Regions from separate parts of the Homo sapiens genome. Here all the other regions are linked to region 6. The links are contacts of gene promoters, found by promoter capture Hi-C in human tissues and cell types (Jung and others, 2019). All regions are on one chromosome and are shown on one strand. Each heading gives the region's core, a stretch centred on a gene start or on the middle of the fragment in contact. The rest is flanking DNA. Distances are from core to core; before and after follow the strand shown.

Region 1 (3,003 bases), core at 496-2,995, 320 kb after region 6:
AGACAGAGTCTCGCCCTGTCACCCAAGCTGGAGTTCAATGGCACGATCTCGACTCACTGCAACCTCCGCCTCCCGGGTTCAAGCAGTTCTCTGCCTCAGCCTCCCAAGTAGCTGGGATTACAAGCACCCACCACCACGCCCAGCTAATTTTTATATTTTTAGGACAGACAGGGTTTCACCATCTTGGCCAGGCTGGTCTTGAACTCCTGACCTGGTGATCCACCCACCTTGGCCTCCCAAAGTGCTGGGATTACAGGCGTGAGCTACCGCGCCCGGCCAACCTGATGATTTTCTAAAAACCTTTTTGGACTGGGCGCAGTGGCTTATGCCTCTAATCCCAGCACTTTGGGAGGCTGAGGCAGGTGGATCACTTGAGGTCAGGAGTTTGAGACCAGCCTGGCCAACATGGCAAAATCCCATCTCTACTAAAAATACAAAAATTAGGAGTAGTGGCGCACACCTGTAATCCCAGCTGCTTGGGAGGCTGAAGCAGGAGAATCGCTTGAACTCAGGAGGTGGAGGTTGCAGTGAGCTGAGATGACACCACTGCACTCCAGCCTGGGCAACAGAGTGAGACTCTGTCTCAAAACAAACAAACAAAAAGCCTTTTCAATAAACCACAAGTGACTTTGGTTCACAGTAAATACACTTCTGCCCGAACTAAGATAAAATGTAAGCATTGCTTTTCAAACCTTAGAAATGCAAGAATCAGCTGGGTGCGTTGGCTCATTCCTATAATCCCCACACTTTGGCAGGCCAAGTTGGGAGGACTGCTTGAGTCTCGTTCGAGACCAGCCTGACCATCATGGTGAAACCCCGTCTCTTACTAAAAATAAAAAATTAGTTGGGCGCGGTGGCAGGCGCCTGTAATCCCAGCTATTCGGGAGGCTGAGGCAAGAGAATTGCTTGAACCCGCGAGGCAGAGGGTGCAGTGAGCTGAGATCGCGCCACTGCACTCCAGCCTGGGTGACAGGGACTCCGTGTCAAATAAATGAATAAATACTAAAGAAAAATTAAAAGCTATTATTATTATTATTTTTAGAGGCAGGGTCTCTTTCTGTCTCCCAGGCTGGAGTGCAGTGGCACGGTCACAGATAACTGCAGCCTCGACCTCTTGGGCTCAAGGGATACTCCTGCCTCAGTCTCCCAAAGTTCGGGATTACAGACCTGAGCCACCGCGCCTGGCCGGATGCAGAGCGCCTGGCCGGATGCAGAGGCTTTTGAGTAGGCCCGGTGGACAGGGATTTGCTTTAGACCTGGGCCCCTGTTCCCCCTCTGCCTCTTACCACTGGTGTGACCTGGGGACCGACAGTTTACACTCTCCTTTAGCCGGGGGTTTCCTGTCTCTGAAATGGAGCTAATTTCTCCCCTCTCTACAGGAAGAGGTAGATAGTGCTGGAAGGCGTGCTAGGTACACCGCAAAGACTCCACAGCAAATCCTGCACACAAAATCGCGAATGCTGCAGCCGAGACCCCACGCAAGCAAGCACCGCAGGAGACGTGGGCTGACAGCTGCGCCCCACGTGACCTCCCACCCGCGCCAGTCCGTCCCCTCGGTATCAGGGCGTGGCCTCGCGGGGCGGCCGTACCTGGATTGGCCGGGAGGCGGGACCGGTGGTGCGCGCGCGAAAGGAGAGGGGCTTGGGGGCGTGGCCCAGGGGGCCGGAGACGGCTGCGATTGGCAGTGGGGCGCGCCGGGGGCGTGACCGCGGCATTGGGTCCCGGGTGGGGCCGAGGCAGCGGGAGTCGCGGTTGCTCAGCGTGCACCTGAGACCCGACGCCCGGGGTCCTCGAAGACGCGTCCGCCGCCGTGCCCGTCGCCATGAACCGCTTCAGGGTGTCCAAGTTCCGGCACACCGAGGCTCGGCCGCCCCGCCGCGAGGTGAGTCCGGCCCGAGGACCGGGCGCTGTCGCCTCGGGCCCCGTCCGGCTGCCCCTCCCCCTGCCCGGACCCCACAGGGGTGCCCTCCAGGGCCGTCTGGAACCCCGAGACCTCCATCCCCGGGGAACCCCCCTTCAGGCCAGGGCCCCGGCGTCCGGGCCGTTTCGTCGCCGCCGGAGGGCAGAGTCCGGCACTCCCGTGACTCGCTCTGGCGCTCGGTGACCCTGGCGGTCTGCCCGCCTCGCCCACCTCGCCCCGGGACCCCCGAGGCGGCGCAGCCCTCCTAGCCGGGGCCCAGGCCTGCGAGGCCGCCTGCCTTCCCAGCTTCCGGTCGGCCTCGCCGGGAGCCGGGGCTCGGGGCGCTGCCGGCGCCTGGCTCCTCCTCCCTGCCGCCCCGGGTCGCCCCTGCCCCTGGCTGGGCTGTGGGGAGACGCCCCTCTCTCCTCTGGCCCCGGCGAGCCCAAGTGTGTCAGTGGTGGGGAGGGAGCCCCTCGGCCGCACGCGCCCCTCCCTCGGGTTTCCGCCGGTGCTTCCTCCTCTCGCCGCTGGCGCAAGCTCTTTCTTTATCTCGGTGATGCTGCCACGGCTGGGTGGGGCCTGGGGAAGCCTGAGCAGGTGGAGCCCCAAAGAATTGCTGAGCCAGGTGCCGGGAGACCCTTCGGACCCCCGAAACGGCAGGAGGACTGATGAGGGGTGCGCCTTGGAAACGATGTCAGCTCTGCTCTTCCGCTTTCCGTGTTATTTGTAAGGCCTGGGAGTGTCCTCCGATAACTGGGCCTAGGAGTTGACCTCAAGTGACCCCATCAGGGTCCCAGAGCAAGTCAGGGCAGTCTGGGTAGAGGTTCCGTTTTTGTAGTGTGGACTATATTTCCTCTGCTTCCACTTTATGCTGTGCTAAGCTGCTGGAGACATCCCGGTGAACACAACGGCATTTTCCTTCCCCTGTGGCACTTGTAGCCTCATGAGGGAGACAGCAAGCAGACAAACAAGAGCATTGGAGGTTTTCATAACGACATTGAAGAACACACATGAGGGACTGGGATGGAGAATGGAGGGGGCCAGTCTCAGTAGCGTGGTCAGGAAAGGCTGCCTGGAGTAGATGGCATTTTAGCTGAGGCCAG
Region 2 (3,085 bases), core at 1-2,500, 270 kb after region 6:
GAGGCACCAACATCTGAATAAAGCCATTGTTCTCCCAGATGGCTTCCAGGAGAAGAGGACTCTGCTTCCAGGACTTGGGTTGGGGTGGTAGTTGTGTACCAACACAACAGTAAGTGGTTGGGGAGGGTCCGGGGCTGTACCAACACAGCAGTAAGTTGGAGCGGGGGGGGGGGGTCCAGGGCTGTACCAACACAGCAGTAAGTGAGGGGACCCGGGGTTGTACCAACACAGCAGTAAGGGGTGGCTCCAGGGCTGTACCAACACAGCAGTAAGGGAGGGTCCAAGGCTGAAGGGATCACTTGGTGACTGGGACGAGTGACCTAAACGTGTTTAGTCAGACAGGTGTGAAGTGGCCTGTTCTGACCTCAGCTAGCAGAACAGCTCTGACCAGCAGCCTCTGTTCCCACATTTGAAATTCATTCACAGACGGGGACATAGCACAGGACACAGAGGAGCCCCAGGAGCCGAGCTTCTGACACACCCCTTTCATCTCCAGAGCTAGTGAGGCCATCTGCACATGTGAACTGGAGACAGGCTCTGCAGGGAGGCGGGGGAGATATGGGCTTCTCCCTTTCTCTCCTCATCCTTGTCCTGGAAGGAGCCGGCCTTGGGGTACCATCCTGGACACAGGTGAACTTCAAACAGGTTGGAAAAAGGAAAATCGGATGTGGCAGAGCTGTGGTCCACAACGCACAGTAATTGGACACTGCTGGGAAGCAAAACTGAAGGAGAAACAACCCACCTTGCTTGCTGGGGTGGGTCACAGAGAAGAGGGTCAGAGGCCGAGAGACCAGTTATTTGCCTGAGAGTTTGTGGTCCATGGCAGCTCCGATTTTTTTTTTTTTTTTTTTTTTTGAGACGGAGTCTCCCTCTGTCACCCAGGCTGGGGTGCAGTGGCACGATCCCAGCTCACTGCAGCCTCCACCTCCTGGGTTCAAGTGATTCTCCTGCCTCAGCCTCCCGAGTAGCTGGGATTACAAGCATGCACCATCACGTCCAGCTAATTTTTGTATTTTTAGTAGAGACGGGGTTTCACCATATTGTCCAGGATGGTCTCGATCTCTTGACCTCGTGATCCGCCCGCCTCGGCCTTCCAAAGTGTTGGGATTACAGGCATAAGCCACCGCGCCTGGCCAATTTTTTTTTTTTTTTTTTTTTTTTTTAAAGAGTCAAGGTCTCGCTCTGTTGCCCAGGCTGGAGTGCAGTGGCACAGTCATAGCTCACTGCAGCCTTCACCTCCCAGGCTTAAGTGATCCTTCCACCTCAACCTCCTGAGTAGCTGGGATTATCGTACAGGTATGAGCCACTGAGCCCAGCAGTTCTGTGAATTTCAATTCAACACATTTAGGTTTGTGTGACTACCATCACAGTTTTTATTTTTTTACTTCCCCACCCTGGCTCTGGCACCCCCAGGCACAAAAATTCATTCTATCCATTGACTGAAGCATTTCTTTGACAATTTACCAGTATGCTGGGCCCTAAATACAATGTAGCAAAAAAAGTTATGCTGCCTGCCTTGAGGAGCTTATATTTAGTGGGAGAGCCTGATAGAAACACACAATAAATAGTTATGTATCTACGCCTGTAATTCCGGCACTTTGGGACGCTGAGGTGGAGGATGGCTTGAGTTCAGGAGTTCGAGACCAGCCTGGGCAACATAGCAAGACCCCATCTCTACCTAAAAAAAAGAAATACAAAAGAAACTAGGGCCAGGCGTGGTGGCTCATGCCTGTAATCCCAGCACTTTGGGAGGCCAAGGCAGGTGGATCAGTTGAGGTTGGGAGTTCGAAACCAACTTGGTCAACATGGCAAAACCCTGTCTCTACCAAAAAATACAAAAATTAGCTGGGCGTGGTGGCGTGTGCCGGCAGCTACTCAGGAGGCTGAGGCAGGAGAATCAGCTGAACCCAGGAGGTGGAGGTTGTGGTGAGCCGAGATTGTACCACTGCACTCCAGCCTGGGCGACAGAGGGAGACTCTGCCTCAAAAACAAAAAAACAGAAGAAATGGTGGCAGGCGTGGTGGCATGTGCCTGTACTCCCAGCTACTCAGGAAGCTGTGGTAGGAGGATCACTTGAGCCCAGGAGGTCAAGGCTGTGGTGAGCTGTGATTGCACCACCACAAGCCAGCCAGGGCAACAGAGTGAAAGCCTGTCTCAAAAACAAAACAAAACCCAAAAAACAAATTGACATAAGGGCTGCAAAAAACAAAACAGGAAGGATAAATAAATGGGGACAGGAGCAGCATCGGGGGAGGTGACCAGTAAGCTAAGGTCTGTGGATCATGCCCTTGGCCATATAACTATGGACCCACTTCGCCTTTTATGTTCCCCCCTGGCCCATTTGTGACCCTTGAAGAGTCATGAGAAATAAGCAGAACTTCTAGTTAAAAGATAAGACCTGCACAGTATTTATTAACAAGCAAGAGTGTGAAACAAGCCTCTTCCAGGAGCCGTGCAGCTGCCGTCCTCCACATCAGAGCCGGCTCTGCAGTGCTACAAACACAGAGGGGCAGGGGCAGCTGGAGGCCTGTGGGCCTGGAGAGAATTCTTGCACACTGTTTGGTTGACAGGGAAGGAAACAAAGGCCAGGCCACCAGAACCCAAAGGACTATGAGTGAGGAGGGGGCTCAGGTTGGAAACAACCCAGTCCCAGGCCTGAGGTGGGAATGGGGCTGAGGACCAATGCCTGAGAGCTGGCCTTGTCCACCCTCCTAATGTTTTTTTTGAGATGGAGTCTCACCCTGTCACCCAGGCTGGAATCCAGTGGCGCAATCCTGGCTCACTGCAACCTCCACCTCCAGGGTTCAAGCGGATCTCCTGCCTCAGCCTGCCGAGTAGCTCGGATTACAGGCGCCCACCACCAAGTCTGGCTAATTTTTGTATTTTTAGTAGAGACAGGGTTTCACCATGTTGGCTAGGCTGGTCTTGAACTCGTGACCTCATGATCCGCCCACCTTGGCCTCCCAAAGTGCTGGGATTACAGGTGTGAGCCACCACGCCCGGCCCACCCTCCTAATGTTTAAGCAAGTGCCAAACATGTACCTCCCACAGGCTCACAGGCCTAGAAATACTTTATTTTCTTGAG
Region 3 (2,767 bases), core at 203-2,702, 290 kb before region 6:
AGCTAGGACGACAGGCACGTGCCCCCATGCCCGGCTAATTTTATTTCTTACTGTTTTTTAGAGATAGGATCTCACTATTTTGCACAGACGAGGTGCACAGTCCTGGGCTCAAGTGATCCTCCCACCTTGGCCTCCCAGCCCCCATGCCCAGCATCCAGCTGTGTTTTATTTGGCTTACATAATTTTTAAAAAGTTAAAATATATCAGCAGCATCTAAAAATCAGTAACATTCACATTTTTTTAAACTTTTTTTTTTGAGACGGGGTCTCACTCTGTTGCCTAGGCTGGAGTGCAGTGGTGCGATCTCAGCTCACCACAACCTCCGCCTCCTGGGTTCAGGCAATTCTCCTGCCTCAGTCTCCTGAGTAGCTGGGATTACAGGTGCCCGGCTAATTTTCATATTTTTAGTAGAGACAGGATTTCGCCATGTTGGCCAGGCTGGTCTTGAACTCCTGACCTCAAGTGATACGCCCGCCTAAGCCTCACAAAGTGCTGGGATTGCAGGCATGAGCACCACGCCCAGCCTTAAAAACCTTTTTAATGGCTTCTCTTAAAATATCAGGCCAGGCGTGGTGGCTCACGCCTGTAATCCTAGCACTTTGGGAGGCCGAGGCAGGTGGATCACTTGAGGTCAGGAGTTCAAGACCAGCCTGGCCAACATGGTGAAACCTGGTCTCTACTGAAAATACGAAAATTAGCCAGGCGTGGTGATTCGAGCCTGTAGTCCCAGCTACTCGGGAGTCCAAGGCAGGGGAATCGTTTGAAGCCAGGAGGCGGAGATTGCAGTGAGCTGAGATCATGCCACTGCACTCCAGCCTGGATGACAGGGCGAGACTCTGTCTCAAAAAAAAAAAAAAAAAATCAGGAGATGGGGCAGCACGGACCTGCATTGTACGTCATGACTGCCTCTGCTGTTCCCTGCACATGTCTTAAATGTTGCCCCATCCCCACCTAGTCCATTTTGCTCATAACATTCCCTGTGTGGTCCCTGGAGGCACCTGATTTAGTGCTATCTATGCCGGGTAGAGGGAAGCCCCTCCAGTGCTACCCAAGCCCTGAGCCCACCCAGCAGTCCCCCACTTGGGGCTTCTCTCCTGTCTGCAGGACCGCCTGGCTAGCCCTCACCCTGGCGCTGGCCTTCCTCCTGCTGATCAGCACTGCAGCAAACCTGTCCTTGCTCCTGTCCAGAGCAGAGAGGAACCGGCGCCTGCATGGGGACTATGCATACCACCCGCTGCAGGAGATGAACGGGGAGCCTCTGGCCGCAGAGAAGGAGCAGCCAGGGGGCGCCCACAACCCCTTCAAGGACTGAAGCCTCAAGCTGCCCGGGGTGGCACGTCGCGAAAGCTTGTTTCCCCACGGTCTGGCTTCTGCAGGGGAAATTTCAAGGCCACTGGCGTGGACCATCTGGGTGTCCTCAGCCCCTGTGGGGCAGCCAAGTTCCTGATAGCACTTGTGCCTCAGCCCCTCACCTGGCCACCTGCCAGGGCACCTGCAACCCTAGCAATACCATGCTCGCTGGAGAGGCTCAGCTGCCTGCTTCTGGCCTGCCTGTGTCTGCTGCCGAGAAGCCCGTGCCCCCGGGAGGGCTGCCGCACTGCCAAAGAGTCTCCCTCCTCCTGGGGAAGGGGCTGCCAACGAACCAGACTCAGTGACCACGTCATGACAGAACAGCACATCCTGGCCAGCACCCCTGGCTGGAGTGGGTTAAAGGGACGAGTCTGCCTTCCTGGCTGTGACACGGGACCCCTTTTCTACAGACCTCATCACTGGATTTGCCAACTAGAATTCGATTTCCTGTCATAGGAAGCTCCTTGGAAGAAGGGATGGGGGGATGAGATCATGTTTACAGACCTGTTTTGTCATCCTGCTGCCAAGAAGTTTTTTAATCACTTGAATAAATTGATATAATAAAAGGAGCCACCAGGTGGTGTGTGGATTCTGAATCATGGACTTAGGTCACTGCTAGGGCTTAGCAGGTGTGGCTTATCCTGAAACAGAAGTCACAACGGCATCCTGGAGCCAAGTCCTGTTCCCTGCTTGTTTAATCCAGTGCTTATCAAACTTTAATATGCCACAGGTCACGAGGAGATCTTGTTAAAATGCAGATTTGGGCCTGGGGTGAGGCCAGCAATTCTGCGTTTCCAACAAGCTCTCTGACGATGCTGATGCTTCAGGTCCCCAGACCACACTTCTTGTCTTTCTTAGAAACAGGGTCTCGCTCTGTTGCCCTGGCTGGAGTGCAATGGCACGATCTCGGCTCACTGCAATTTTGACCTCCTGGGCTCAAGTGATTCTCCCACCTCAGTCTCTCAAGTAGCTGGGACTATAGGCACATGCCACCATGCCCAGCTAATTTTTAAAATTTTTTTTGCAGAGAAGGGGTGTCACTGAGTTGCCCAGGCTGGTCTCAAGCTCCTGGCCTCAAGTCAACCTCCTGCCATGGCCTCCCAAAGTGCTGAGATTACAGGTTCGAGCCACTGCGCCTGGCCCCTGACCATAATTTGAATGACCAGGGCTTAGTTTTTCCTCACAGTATTTTTATAGAATTTAAATTAGTTACCCATGTTTAAAAGTCAAGAGATTTTAAAATAAATAAGGGCGGGGGTGCAGTGGCTCACGCCTGTAATCCCAGCACTTTGGGAGGCTGAGGTGGGCGGATCACCTGAGGTCAGGAGTTCGAGACTAGCCTGGCCAACATGGCAAAACCCCGTCTCTACTAAAAATACAAAACAGGCATGGTGGTGGGAGCCTGTAATCCAGTTAC
Region 4 (3,109 bases), core at 416-2,915, 270 kb before region 6:
GTGCAAGATCCGTGTTTGCATTATTTTTAAACCCTTATTATTTTTGAGAATCCATTTGTAAAAGCCACTTTACAGGCTGGGAACAGAGGCTGACGCCTGTAATCCCAACCCTTTGGAAGGCCAAGGTGGGAGGATCACTTCAGCCCAGGAGTTTTAGACCAGCCTGAGCAACAGGGTGAGACCTCATCTCTGCAAAAAAAAAAATTAGCTGGGCAAGGTGGTGCACATTTATAGTCCCCGCTGCTTGGGAGGCTGAGGTGGGAGGACTGCTTGAGCCCAGCAGGTCAAGGCCGCAGTGAGCTGTGATTGCACCACTGCACTCCAGCTTGGGTGACAGAGTGAGAGCCTGTCTCAAAGGAAAAAAAAAAGCCACTTTACAGAAGAGGAAGCTGCTGCTCAGAAAGGTTTGCTGCCTTTGGGGGCGATGCCACCGTAAGTACTGGCTCCGGGAAACAGTTCAGGAACAGAAATGCGGGGGAGTCAGAGGACAGTGGGTTCCTGCAGAGGACACTGGGTTCCTGGATGTGCCATGACAGAGCCAAGGGAGAACTCGTGGTGGAGAGCTGATCTCAAAAAGCAAAGTCAGGCTGTGAGTGGTGGCTCACGCCTGTAATCCCAGCACTTTGGGAGGCCGAGGCAGGCGGATCACGAGGTCAGGAGACCGAGACCATTCTGGCTAACACAGTGAAACCCTGTCTCTACTAAAAATACAAAAAAATTAGTCAGGCGTGGTGGCGGGTGCCTGTAGTCCCAGCTACTCTGGAGGCTGAGGCAGGAGAATCGCTTGAACCCGGAAGGCAGAGCTTGCAGTGAACTGAGATTGCACCGCTGCACTCCAGCCTGGGCGACAGAGCGAGACTCCGTTTCAAAAAAGAAAAAAAAAAAAAAAAAAAGCAAAGTCAAGGAGACTGTTGAGTGGAGTGGGAGGATAAAGTCTTCGAGCTAGAAGCCAGACAGGACCCCAGGTTCAAATCCAGCTCTGTCCTGACCGGCTCACAAGCTTCGATGGGGGCCACCATTCTGAATCTCAGTTTCCCCATGCATAGAAAACGGGGATGCTTACGGGCCCTGCCTCAAGGCCCAGAAGACCACTGTAGAAACTGGGGGAGAATGAAGCCCCTGGCACGCTGCCCAGCCCAGCACATATGCACAGTGGACCCCTCTCCACCCTCCGTCTTTGCTGTTTAGGGGGGATTTGTGCCCAGCCCAGGTGTTTGCCTGATGGGACGGCCCAGCTGCCTTGTGCTCCCCTCACACCGCTTCTGTCCTTCCTCGTTGACGGAGAGAACCTGGAAGGGAGAGACAGTGCTGCTCAACGTCCGCCTCGCTGCTTTACCCCACACAGTCCTTCCCAGGCCCGGCCCCAGGCACGGCGTCCAGGAACGAGGCCCCTGACTCACATGCCGCAGCAGCGCCTCCTCCCCCACGGCCTTCATCAAGCCTTTGGTGTCCATCTGGCCCAGGCGGAGGATGTAGAGGGGGCGGCCATCTTTGTGGATGGGGCCAAGCAGAAAGAAGAGCCCGTTATTTAGAGGACTGCTTCCGAGGGGCAGGTCACAGCTGCAGGTGAGAGCTTCACCTCCTCAGGCTGCAACCCACCAAGGCCCGATCCAGCCTTCACTTACTAACACCCTGCCTGCTTCCAAGAGGGGCTGACGCCCCTTATTGTGAAAGGCAGAAAAACAGAAGTGTTACAATGAGGATAAGGGCCAGCACAGTGGCTCACACCTATTACCCCAGCATTTTGGGGGGCAGAGGCAGGAGGATTGCTTGAACACAGGAGTTTTGAGACCAGCCTGGGCAACATAATGAGACCTCTTCTCTACAAAACATTTTTATTTATGTATTTATTTGAGACAGAGTCTTGCTCTGTCACCCAGGCTGGAGTGCAGTGGTGCGATCTCGGCTCACTGTAACCTCGGCCTCCCAGGTTCAAGCAATTTTCCTGCCTCAGCCTCCCGAGTAGCTGGGATTACAGGCGCCCACCACCGCACCCGGCTAATTTTCGTATTTTTAGTAGAAATGGGGTTTCACCATCTTGGCCAGGCTGGTCTCAAACTCCTGACCTCAGGTGTACACCCACCTCAGCCTCCCAAAGTGTTGGGATCACAGGCATGAGCCACCGCAGCTGGCCCCATAATACTTTTTGTCAACCAATCAATATATAACCTTGTTTTATGTGGTGTTTTTTGTCTGTTGGTTTGTTAGTTGGTTGATTTGTTGGTTTTTGAGACAGAGTCTCACTGTATCACCCAGGCTGGAGTTCAGTGGAGCAATCTCAGCTCACTGCAACCTCTGCCTCCCAGGTTCAAGCGATTCTCACACCTCGGCCTCCCAGGTAGCTGGGACTACCGGCATGCACCACCACGCTTGGCTAATTTTTGGTATTTTTAGTAGAGACAGGGTTTCACAATGTTGGCCAGGCTGGTCTCGAACCCCTGGCCTCAAGTGATCTGCCGCCTCGGCCTTCCAAAATGCTGGGATTACAGACGTGAGCCCACCATGCCTGGCCTCTTTGTTCTTTGAGGCAGGGTTTCACTCTGTCACCCAGGCTGGAGTGCAGTGGCATGATCTCGACTCACTGCAGCCTGAACCTCCCCAGCTTAAACAATCCTCCCACCTCAGCCTCCCAAGTAGCTGGGACCACAGGCATGCAGCACCATGCCCAGATAATTTTTTTGTATTTTTTGTGGAGATGTGGTGGAGGGGGGCGAGCTCACTATGTTGCCCAGGCTGGTCTCGAACTCCTGGGCTTAAGCGATCCTCCAGCTTTGGCTTCCCAGAGAGCTCTGATTACAGGTGTGAGCCACTGCGCCCGGCTTGTGTTTCTGTTTAAGGACACTTGAATGCATATTGCTGATCTGTCAGCATTGAACTCACGGCCAGCAGCCCTGTAGCTGGTGCCTGCCTGAAGCTAGTGGAGCACTTTGGGTGTTTTCTGCATGGAGCACGTGGCCACTTGCTCATCCTTAGGAAAGCTAGGCGCAATTCTGCACTACACGAAGAGGCATTTTAAACAGCAAAGTCACCAAAGAAAAGCCCAAAAATGCAACAATGTGGCATTAAATAGGCCACAAAAAGGACACTCGTTTAGGGTATGAGAACTGAA
Region 5 (3,183 bases), core at 684-3,183, 350 kb before region 6:
TACGCATTTTCCACTCGTAACAAAAAACTGTGATTGAAAATCGTCCCGGGTCACAGTGTCTCACGCCTGTAATCCCAACACTGTAAGAGGCTGAGGCTTTGGGAGGCTGAGGTGAGCAGATCACGGGAGGTCGAGTTCAAGACCAGCCTGGCCCACATGGTGAAACCCCATCTCTACTAAAAACACAAAAATTAGCCAGGCGTGGTGGTGCACGCCTATAGTCAAAGCTACTCGGGAGACTGAGGCAGGAGAATCACTTGAACCTGGGAGGCGTTGCAGTGAGCTGAGATTGTGCCACTGCACTCCAGCCTGGGGAACAGAGTAAAACTTCGTCTAAAAACAAATAATAAAAGAGGCTGAGGCAGGAGCATCACTTGAGGCCATGCGTTCAGGACCCCATCTCTACAAAATAAAAAAATTACTGGCATGGTGGCACGCACCTGTCATCCCAGCTACTCAGGAAGTGGGAGGATTGCTAGAGCCCAGGAGTCGAGGCTGTAGTGAGCAATGACTGTGCCACTGCACTCCAGCCTGGGTGACAGAACAAGATCATATCTCAAAACAAAAAAAAAGAATCATTCTGGCTAACGGCTCTTCAGACATCTGTGCTTATGAGAACAGCAGCCCCTTCTAAGCTGTGTGTGTGTGTGGGTGTGTGTGTGGTGCGTGTGGTTTTTTTTTTTTTTTTTTGAGACTTAGTCTCACCCTGTCACTCAGGCTGGAGTGCAGTGGCACAATCTCAGCTCACTGCAACCTCCACCTCCTGGGTTCAAGCAATTCTCCCACCTCAGCCTCCCAAGTAGCTGGGATTACAGGCACTCGCCATCATGCCTGGCTAATTTCTGTATTTTTGTAGAGATGGGATTTCACCATGTTGGCCAGGCTGGTCTCGAACTCCTGACCTCAAGTGATCCGCCCGCCTTGGCCTCCCAAAGTGTTGGGATTACAGGCATGAGCCACTGTGCCCGGCCGCTTTCTAAGCTTTGTGAAGAGTGGGTTGACTATTCAGATCTCTGCTTCTGTCCCGCTGTGCCAAGTGCTGGGGCAGACACAGGCAGAGAGTGGACAGCGGCACGGTGCCTGCTGCTAGCCATTTCTATGCAAAACCAGCTTTCTGGTCCCATCCTGGAGGCCAATTCTAGGCACCTGGGTGGGCCTGGGAACCTGTGAACCAAGTAAACTGACTTGGACACCCCCCTACCCCGCCAGGCCTGTCCTAGCAGCCCCACACAATACCCTCATGTCCTGTCCCCAAACACCGCCATCCTCAAACACATGTGCTCTGTTTCCAGGCCGGGCCGGGATCAGATGGGAAGTGGAACCTCGTCATGAGCAGAAACTGTTTCCCTACGAAGAGCACTTGGAGATGGCAATGCTGAATCTCACCCTGTAGGACTCACACACGACTCCAACGGGATTGTGAGAATCAAGTCACTCTCATGGGAAGAATTTTTATATGGGAAAGCGGATAAAACTTTCATTGGACTGGAATGTTTGGAGAATGTTAATTTCCAAATCAGGAACCACAAACTGCCCTCTAATAAGACATCGGCTATCTAAGCGTGTGGGTGCCCCCTTTCTGCCAGCAGTTCTGGTTCTTAAGAAAATCACCATAAATCAGACATGAAAATTCTGGCTCCAAAAATAGCATTTTCTTTGTGCAAATAAAAACGTGTGTATCAAGTATGATGTTCCCCCAACGTGGACACACTCAGTTCCTCACAAAGCCAAGCCCACTGCAGCTGCCACATCCCTGGGCTTACGGTGCAGCAGGTGCTTTTTTCAAGACAGGAATCAAAATGTTAGGAACACGGCAGAAAGGGGACACCTGGAGACCAAACGCAGGATGAGGAGTTCTGCAGAGGTCACAGGGAAGTCACAGAACAGTAATACGCTAGCAGGGGCATGGGGCGTGAAGAACAGAAGAAGAGAGGAAGCGTTTCCAAGCCTCCAGAGAAGAAATCAAGGCCAACCAAAGCTTCCCGGGTCACAGAACCAATTCTTTTACCAGGCAGTACCACTGCTGTCATTTCAGCTTCTGGCCACTGGGAGGTGCTGCTCGAAAGGGTTTGCCCTGAGACTCCAAGAAGAAGCTGCGGGAAGGACAGCAGGGGTCCTGGGGTTTTAGCCTCTGGCCCAGGAGTTATGTGTCCATAACCAAAGGGAGCACAGTCTGCACCCAGCTCTCATCCCATCGGAGCTGCTGCGACTCCCGCAGGTTCTTCCGGAACTGGTTTAGCTTGCCCGCAGGATCAGGAAAGTTTGAGAAAAGCATCTGCAAAAAAATAAAGAGCAGAGCTTACCTCATTGCCTGTCCCCACCCCATCCCAGGTCACCACCTGGCTGACCCCAGGTCCCCGACCCAACAACAACCCCTCCCAAGTCCCTAACTCCCTCACTTGGACTCGAGACCCTTCACACCCCAGCAGCACTCCGCCTCCAACTTGACATCACAGTTTCTGGAAACTTCCCCGCATGTCCCACTTTCCCACACTTGGTGCCCTGGAGCACCTCCCGGCCTCTACGTGCTGCCCATTCCCCTGTGAGCACCCTCCTCTCGGCCTCTGGCCAACGCAGTCTCACCCATCTGTGGGTAACAAGGGGGTGTCGGTGTTCTTTGCAGCCTTGCTAAACTGTCTGAATCAAGGATCACAAACTACAGCCTGCAGGCCAAATCCAGCCCACAGCCTGTGTTTGTAAATAAAGTTTTATTGGAACAAAGCCACACCCCTTAATCTACAGATGATCTGTGGCTACTTTCACACCCCAACAGAGTACCATGGTTCTGACAGAGACTGGGGAACCCAGTCTAAACGACTTCCGACCTGGACCTTTACTGAAAATCCTGCCAATCATTCTGTTGGCAAGAATGATGTATTACTTTTTGCAATAAGAAACAAGTAACCTTTGCAGAATTCCACCCATCTTTCAAGGCTGGTCCCAGAAGCTCCCTTTGCCCGCCCACCTACGTGATCCTGATCACTTCCTCAACCGCAGCCCGGCCCACCCAGCTCCAGCATCATTTGTGGAGTGTCAGCTCCATAAATCCAGAGGGCAGGTGGGGGTGTGTCTTAACTTTCCCGAGCCTACTGTACCGAAACGGGACAGCAGAGTGGGCCAGCCTCTGTGACCTCTGCTCCCTCCCTAGCTTTTCCGCCAGACCCCACATGGTCCCACCCTGGC
Region 6 (2,829 bases), core at 275-2,774:
TTGTAGAGATGGAGTCTCCCTGTTGCCCAGGCTGGTCTCAAACTCCTGGCCTCAAGTGATCCTCTTGCCTCAGCCTCCCAAAGTGCTGGGATTACAGGCATGTGCCATCGCGCCTGGCTGACAGTTTGGAGTCACTAAGTGATTTTTTTTTTTTTTTGGAGTCACTACTCTGACCAGCCCCTGCATTTATATCTTAGAGTCTTAAAGGAGATGGTCCTGTTATTCAGGGGGCTGGGGAGCTTGAGCTTGAGAGCTGGGGGGTGAGGGTCCTCTAGAGCCAGTGTCAGGAGAACTCTGCAGCTCGAGAGGCCGCTGTGGCTTTGGCCCTGCAGTCAGTGCCCGTTCATCCCCAATCAGGGCAGCGGCAGGAGATGTGAATTGGGGGCTGCTTGCTTCCTCTGTACTTCTGGGAATAGGGCAGGTGCTTGGTGCACTCTGAACTGGGAGCAGCGGGTTGGGGACGCATCTGGTGCACACAGCCAGCGGGTGTTTTTTGTAACTAGAGCTCTGTTCCGCAATTCAGGGCACAGTATTTCTTAGGGCAACAGAATCGTCGGGATGAAGAGGGCCTCCAGAGACTCTGATAAACCCTTCAGGCGGACAAGACAATAGGGGAGGGAACGGCATTACCGGCAGAAGGAAGAGCATGTACAGTAGCTCAAAGGAATGAACCGCCCAACAGGTTTAAGGGAAGAAAGTGTCAGTTGCTGGACTCTCCGGTGAAAACGGACCAGACAATGCAGGGCCCTGAACGCCAAGTTGAGGAGCTCAGAGCATCCAGAAGGCGAAGGGGAGGCTCGGAGCCGCCTCTGAATAACGGCCTTCCGGCTCCGTCTCGGGGTGGGTTTCTCAGCTGCAGCCTGTTAGCCCCGCCACAGCCCCGCCCCGGTTCTCAGAGCCCCGCCCCCAGCCGGCCTGCCACGAGGCTGCCGGTTGTTATGGCAACCAGACGCCAACAGCCTCCCGGGTCGAGCTTTTAAATTTTAAAGCTGTGGAAGTGGAAAGCCCATCGCTCCTCCTCTCACCCACCCCCAGCCCGTATTTCCCCGCGTTTTGTTCAACTCCCTGCAGGCGCAGCAGGCCCGAGGCCCCTCACCTCAGGCCTCTGCCTCCACTCCCCGCGCTGTCCTGACAGCGCTATAAACAGCCTCCAGCGCGTCACTCCGCTCGCGTCCGCCCCTCGGGCCGCGCCGCAGGTACAGAGGCTGTCCCCTTCTTCAGCACTCTCCCTCTCAGCGGAGCTTTACATTACTAGACTGCCTCCGCCTTCCCCCCACCCCGCCCAGCTCCTCTTTCGGGCCTTTGCGCGTCCTGCCTCTCCTGCAATGGGATTGGTTCCCCTGGAGGGCGGGGACGGAGCAGGACAAACACCACTAGCTCATTGGCTACCGCGGGCATCAGACAGCGAGCCGGGAAGCTGACCGGAAGGTCCGGGTGCGGGACGTGTGCATTCCACGGCGCCCGGGAGCTGTCCCGGTGCCGACCCGCGAGCTTCCCGGCGTGCTCCGCGCCCTCCCGCAACTACTTCCGGGGCGGGTGCCGGGGGCGGTGCCCCGGCGAGGGAGCGTGGCGGCGAGCTGTTTGGGGGGGGTTGGCGACGGCAGCCCGAGGGCGGCGCAAGGCCTGAGGCCCAGCACAGGTGGGTTCCGCGGCGGCCCGGCCCCAGCACTTGCCGGCACCTGCAGCCCGCCTAGACCCGGCGCTCGGGCGTCCCGCGCTGCACTTGCTCGCCGCGTGACTGGAGGACCGAGCCCCCACATTTTCTTTATGTGGTTGTGGTGGGGGCACAGTAATGCCCTGTGCGCCGTAGCGTTCCTGTGGGGATGTGGCCGGGGGGCGTCGGGAAGCGTCACTGCTGTGAGTTACGGGTTTGTCGGCCAGGGACCCGCCCCGGGGCCAGTGAGCTACCTTTGCGATGCGGTTCCACGGGGCGAGAGGGGGTGCCTGGGTGCTTTCACAGACCTCCTCTGTGGGCGTGACAGTTACCACCAGCATCACATTTGTTAAGATTTTTAAAAATTTTTTAATTTTTGTGGGTACGTAGTAGGTGTATATATTTATGGCGTATATGAGAGATTTTGATACAGGCATGCAGTTCGTAATAATCACATGTAAAATGGGGGTCTCCATCCCTTCAAGCATTTATCCTTTGTGTTACAAACAATATGATTATACTCTTTGAATTATTTTTAAATGTGCAGCCGGGCGCGGTGGCTCACTCACGCCTGTAATCCTAGCACTTTGGGAGGCAAAGGCGGGCGGATCACCTGAAGTCAAGGATTTGAGACCAGCCTGGCCAACATGGGGACACTTCGTCTCTACTAAACATACGAAAACTAGGCTGGCATGGTGGCTCATACCTGTAATCTCAGCTACTCGGGAAGCTGAGGCAGGAGAATCGCTTGAACCCAGGAGGCGGAGGTTGCATTGAGCCGAGATCACGCCGCTGCACTCTAGCCTGGGTAACAGAGTGAGATTATGTCTCAAAAAAAATAATAATAAATAAATAAAATGTGCAATTAGATTATATTGACTATAGTCACCCTGTTGTGCGGTCAAATACTAGATCTTTTTTTTTTTTTTTTTTTTTTTGAGACGGAGTCTCGCTTTGTCGCCCAGGCTGGAGTGCAGTGGCTTGATCAAATACTAGATCTTATTCATTCTGTTTTTTTTGTATCCATTAAGCATCCCCACCCTCCACTACCCTTCCCAGCCTTGGTTACACTAGAAGTAACCATCCTTCTACTTTCTATGTCCATGAGTTCAGTTGTTTTGATTTTTAGATAACCACAAATAATTGAGAACATGCAATATTTATCTTTCTGTGCC
Region 7 (3,127 bases), core at 554-3,053, 490 kb after region 6:
ACATGAAGCAGCTACATTGTTTGGGGTAAATACCTGGGGTTCATTGTCTCACGCCAAGAAAATTTAGGACACAGACACACATGAGGAGTTTAGGAGCAGAGGTTTAACAGGCAAAAGAAAGAGAAAGAAAAACAGCTCCTTAGTGAGAGAGAGGGGACTTCCAAGAGGAAAAGTCCCAAGACCTTGTCTTTGAAAAAGCAGTAGCTCATGCCTGTAATCGTAGTGCTTTGGGAGGTCGAGACAGGAAGATTGCTTGAGCCCAGGAGTTGGAGACCAGCCCGAGTGACATAGGAAGACCATGTTTGCAAAAAACAAAAAAATTAGCCAGATGTGGTGCACACCTGTATTCCCAGCCCCTCGGAGGTTGAGGTGAGAGGGTGGCTTGAGCCCAGGAGTTCAAGGCTGCAGTGAGCTATGATCGTGTCACTACTCCAGCCAGGGTGACAGAGACCCTGTCTCTTAAAAAAGATTAAAAAAAAAAAAAAAGTCAAGTGCCTACCAGATGCCTAATTCTTTTTTTTTTTTTTTTTTTTTTTGAGACAGAGTCTCGCTCTGTTGCCCAGGCTAGAGTCAGTGGTGCAATCTTGGCTCATGGCAACCTTCGCCTCCTGGGATCAAGTGATTCTCCTGCCTCAGCCTCCTGAGGAGCTGGGATTATAGGCACCCGCCACCACACCCAGTAATTTTTGTATTTTTAGTGGAGATGGGGTTTCACCATGTTGGCCAGGCTGGTCTCAATCTCCTGACCTCAGGTGATCCACCCGCCTCGGCCTCCCAAAGTGCTGGGATTACAGGTGTGAGCCACTGTGCCTGGCCCTGATTTAGTTCCTTTCCTCCAAGGCTGGCTTCTACCTCTTCCCCACACAGTGACACTGTACCCCGACCAGACAAGCAAGTGTCTGCTTTCCCTTGGCTTCTTACAACTGGCTCTCTGGGCCATCTACAAAAAATTTTAAAAAATTAGTACAGCATGGTGGCACTACTGTCCTAGCTACTTGGGAGGCTGAGTTGGGAGGATTGATTGAGCCTGGGAGGTCGAGTGCAGTGAGTGATGATTGTGCCACTGCAGTCCAGCCTGGGTGACAGAGCGAGATCCTCTATCAAAAACAAATAAACAAAAAAGCACTTTGCAGAGGTGACTGAATGTTCTGGAACCCCTGGGCCATTGGAAATGGATATCTGTTGCTCCATCCTCCAGTTTACACCGTAGCCTCAGCTTGTGTCTCAGTGTGCCCCTCTCCCTCTGGTCTGTGCTCTCTCTCTTCCAGAGGCTGGGAAGGTTGTTCCAGGGCTGCAGCCTTGGACCTCAGAGGTCACATGTTGCGGGTTTGCCGTAGCTGACCACTCTCTAGCATGTGGATCAGTGGCTGTTAAATAGGATTTCTTTTGCGTGGCCTTACAACTTCCTCCTTCCAGTGCAGGCGTGTCAAGGTCCTTAACCTGCCGAGACTTCAGGTCAAGTTATTGCAAGTTCTGGGAAGACTCAGCTTCCCAGCTCCACCGCCTGAGCCCAAGGGATGCTCCATTTTATGCCTGTCACCCACGCCCTGTGACCCATGTCATGTGATCCCAGGGCTGCAGGGGTTCGGGGGAAGAGAATCCAGCCACGGCCCTGCCTTCTGGGGCCTGGCAGCTGGGACAGCAGTGGCGCAGCCTGAGCCTCTGCACAGCCTTCTGGGGTCCGGGCTTCTTCCCCATCACACCCTCCTAGTTGCCCTGGTGACTGTGTGACCCCTCTCCCCCCTCCACCGCCTGCTGCCACGGCCGGCCGTATAAATAGAGGCGAGGAGCAGCTGGGCTCTCTTGGCAGTCACCATGAGGGCGCTGGTCCTGCTCGGCTGCCTCCTGGCCTCGCTCCTGTTCTCAGGACAAGCAGGTAGGGCCCCTCCCAGCATGACCCAGCCCAGACTGGTCCCCCACGCTTCCTCCAAGGTTTTCTGTCTACCATGGGTTGGGTAGGGGGTCGGGGCTGATGGCAAACCCTGGCTCTTGGCTGGTGTCTTCTTACCCTTCTCTTTTCCCCGGGCCTGGGGCCTCAGAGAAAGAGCTGGGTGCTGGAGAATAGCAGCACAGTTGCGGGGCCCTCAGGAAGGCCAGAGGAAGTGGGAACGGCAAACAGAGCTGAGCTGTGAGCCAGGGTCAGAGAGGAGTCTGGCCAGTAGATGTGGGAAAGAGGGCCCTCAAAGTCGAGACGGGGGAGCCTCTGAGACGGACAAAATAGCACAGTCTGGGAGCTGGAGGTCGTTGAGGTGACCCTCCCACCTGGTGGGATATAAGGCGGAGGCCCCACTCGGGTAAGAGAACTGGGTTTGCGTGGACAGAAGGGGATACAGTGGGCAAAGGTGGGGACCGTTTTGGGAGCAGTGAGATAGAATTGGAATTGGTTTGGGATAAGATCGGAAATAGAGTTGGCGGTTGGGCTGGAAACAGCATTGGATGCAATTCAGAAGAGGAACGGGGCCCGTTCTGGAGTAGAGCCTCTGCTCGGGGTGGGGGCTTCCATCAGAAAAGGGGCTTGGCTCTGTGTGCTGAGGCTTCCCTTTGACATCTCAGCACTTTGGGTAGCAGAGGTGGTGGCTTGGGTTGCAGCATGGGGGTTATCTATAGGCTATGGAGGAGATGCCAGATTGTTTTGCCACCTCTCTTGTTCCTAAGGTTCCTGAGGCCAGGTTCCCCGAGGGAATGCTTTTAGGGAGGTGCTCCGGGGATCCCCCTAGGATCCGGACTGCCCACCGAGTCTTTTCATGACTCGGCAGTCTTCCCCCAAGCTGGGCTCTGAGCCTAGGTCCGTACCTGGGACTGGAGAGGCCCAGAGTCCAGCCTCTCAGGTCTTTGAGGTTGAATAGGGGGTTGCAGGGGCACAGTCCCTGCAGGGAGAGCAGGCAGTGGGTGGGAACAAAAGCTATTTCTCGGGGACTCAAGATGTAAGGTGGGGGGCTCCAGCCACTGCATGTGCTGCTGGGCCCTGCCCTTGTCTGTCCTTGAGTTAATTTGGGCTCTGCAGGGCTGCAGCGGCTTGAGTGCTGAGTATTCCAGGCGGCTGTCAGGCGGCTAAGTATGGAAACAGCCGCGTAATTGGATCCGGAGCCCCAAGCCGCTGCCACCCTCTCCCTTCGTGGCCGCTCCT

Evidence for each region. Contacts are between HindIII fragments. The study calls those that stand out against the background at their distance.
Region 1: the fragment with the promoter of CORO7 here is called in contact with the fragment with the promoter of ANKS3 in region 6 in 1 of the 25 tissues and cell types used here (dorsolateral prefrontal cortex).
Region 2: a contact is called between a fragment that was not itself captured here and the fragment with the promoter of ANKS3 in region 6, in 1 of the 25 tissues and cell types used here (mesendoderm cells).
Region 3: a fragment that was not itself captured here is called in contact with the fragment with the promoter of ANKS3 in region 6 in 1 of the 25 tissues and cell types used here (dorsolateral prefrontal cortex).
Region 4: a fragment that was not itself captured here is called in contact with the fragment with the promoter of ANKS3 in region 6 in 1 of the 25 tissues and cell types used here (dorsolateral prefrontal cortex).
Region 5: a fragment that was not itself captured here is called in contact with the fragment with the promoter of ANKS3 in region 6 in 1 of the 25 tissues and cell types used here (dorsolateral prefrontal cortex).
Region 7: the fragment with the promoter of SRL here is called in contact with the fragment with the promoter of ANKS3 in region 6 in 1 of the 25 tissues and cell types used here (spleen).

Annotation. Positions count from the first base shown.
Region 1 is chr16:4,415,338-4,418,340 of GRCh38, reverse strand. CORO7 (coronin 7) reads left to right here and starts at 1,745. Exons shown (of 28, transcript NM_024535.5): 1 at 1,745-1,882. The coding sequence starts at 1,823. CORO7-PAM16 (CORO7-PAM16 readthrough) reads left to right here and starts at 1,745. Exons shown (of 31, transcript NM_001201479.2): 1 at 1,745-1,882. The coding sequence starts at 1,823. LOC124903635 (a long non-coding RNA gene) reads left to right here. Exons shown (of 3, transcript XR_007064963.1): 3 at 1,380-1,616. The HindIII fragment of the contact is 38,450 bases long and covers 1-3,003 here.
Region 2 is chr16:4,458,646-4,461,730 of GRCh38, reverse strand. NMRAL1 (NmrA like redox sensor 1) reads left to right here. Exons shown (of 6, transcript NM_020677.6): 6 at 1-37. Among named protein-coding and RNA genes, the nearest start is that of NMRAL1, 14 kb to the left of the region's middle. RefSeq lists a silencer at 1,996-2,196. The HindIII fragment of the contact is 5,078 bases long and covers 1-3,085 here.
Region 3 is chr16:5,024,023-5,026,789 of GRCh38, reverse strand. NAGPA (N-acetylglucosamine-1-phosphodiester alpha-N-acetylglucosaminidase) reads left to right here. Exons shown (of 10, transcript NM_016256.4): 10 at 1,105-1,946. The coding sequence ends at 1,312. Among named protein-coding and RNA genes, the nearest start is that of NAGPA-AS1, 8.3 kb to the left of the region's middle. RefSeq lists a silencer at 1,088-1,382. The HindIII fragment of the contact is 7,059 bases long and covers 1-2,767 here.
Region 4 is chr16:4,999,035-5,002,143 of GRCh38, reverse strand. It overlaps SEC14L5 (SEC14 like lipid binding 5), which reads right to left. Exons shown (of 16, transcript NM_014692.2): 9 at 1,401-1,489; 10 at 1,219-1,289. Among named protein-coding and RNA genes, the nearest start is that of NAGPA-AS1, 33 kb to the left of the region's middle. RefSeq lists a silencer at 726-917. The HindIII fragment of the contact is 4,501 bases long and covers 1-3,109 here.
Region 5 is chr16:5,083,842-5,087,024 of GRCh38, reverse strand. It overlaps ALG1 (ALG1 chitobiosyldiphosphodolichol beta-mannosyltransferase), which reads right to left. Exons shown (of 13, transcript NM_019109.5): 13 at 1-2,275. The coding sequence ends at 2,144. It overlaps EEF2KMT (eukaryotic elongation factor 2 lysine methyltransferase), which reads left to right. Exons shown (of 8, transcript NM_201400.4): 8 at 1,293-2,741. The coding sequence ends at 1,393. Among named protein-coding and RNA genes, the nearest start is that of EEF2KMT, 12 kb to the left of the region's middle. RefSeq lists an enhancer at 1,885-2,797. The HindIII fragment of the contact is 5,127 bases long and covers 1-3,183 here.
Region 6 is chr16:4,732,966-4,735,794 of GRCh38, reverse strand. ANKS3 (ankyrin repeat and sterile alpha motif domain containing 3) reads left to right here and starts at 1,524. Exons shown (of 18, transcript NM_133450.4): 1 at 1,524-1,857. It overlaps DNAAF8 (dynein axonemal assembly factor 8), which reads right to left and starts at 1,258. Exons shown (of 10, transcript NM_139170.3): 1 at 1,097-1,258. RefSeq lists silencers at 1,399-1,628, 1,679-1,738. The HindIII fragment of the contact is 29,621 bases long and covers 1-2,829 here.
Region 7 is chr16:4,240,756-4,243,882 of GRCh38, reverse strand. SRL (sarcalumenin) reads left to right here and starts at 1,803. Exons shown (of 6, transcript NM_001098814.2): 1 at 1,803-1,876. The coding sequence starts at 1,816. The HindIII fragment of the contact is 19,223 bases long and covers 1-3,127 here.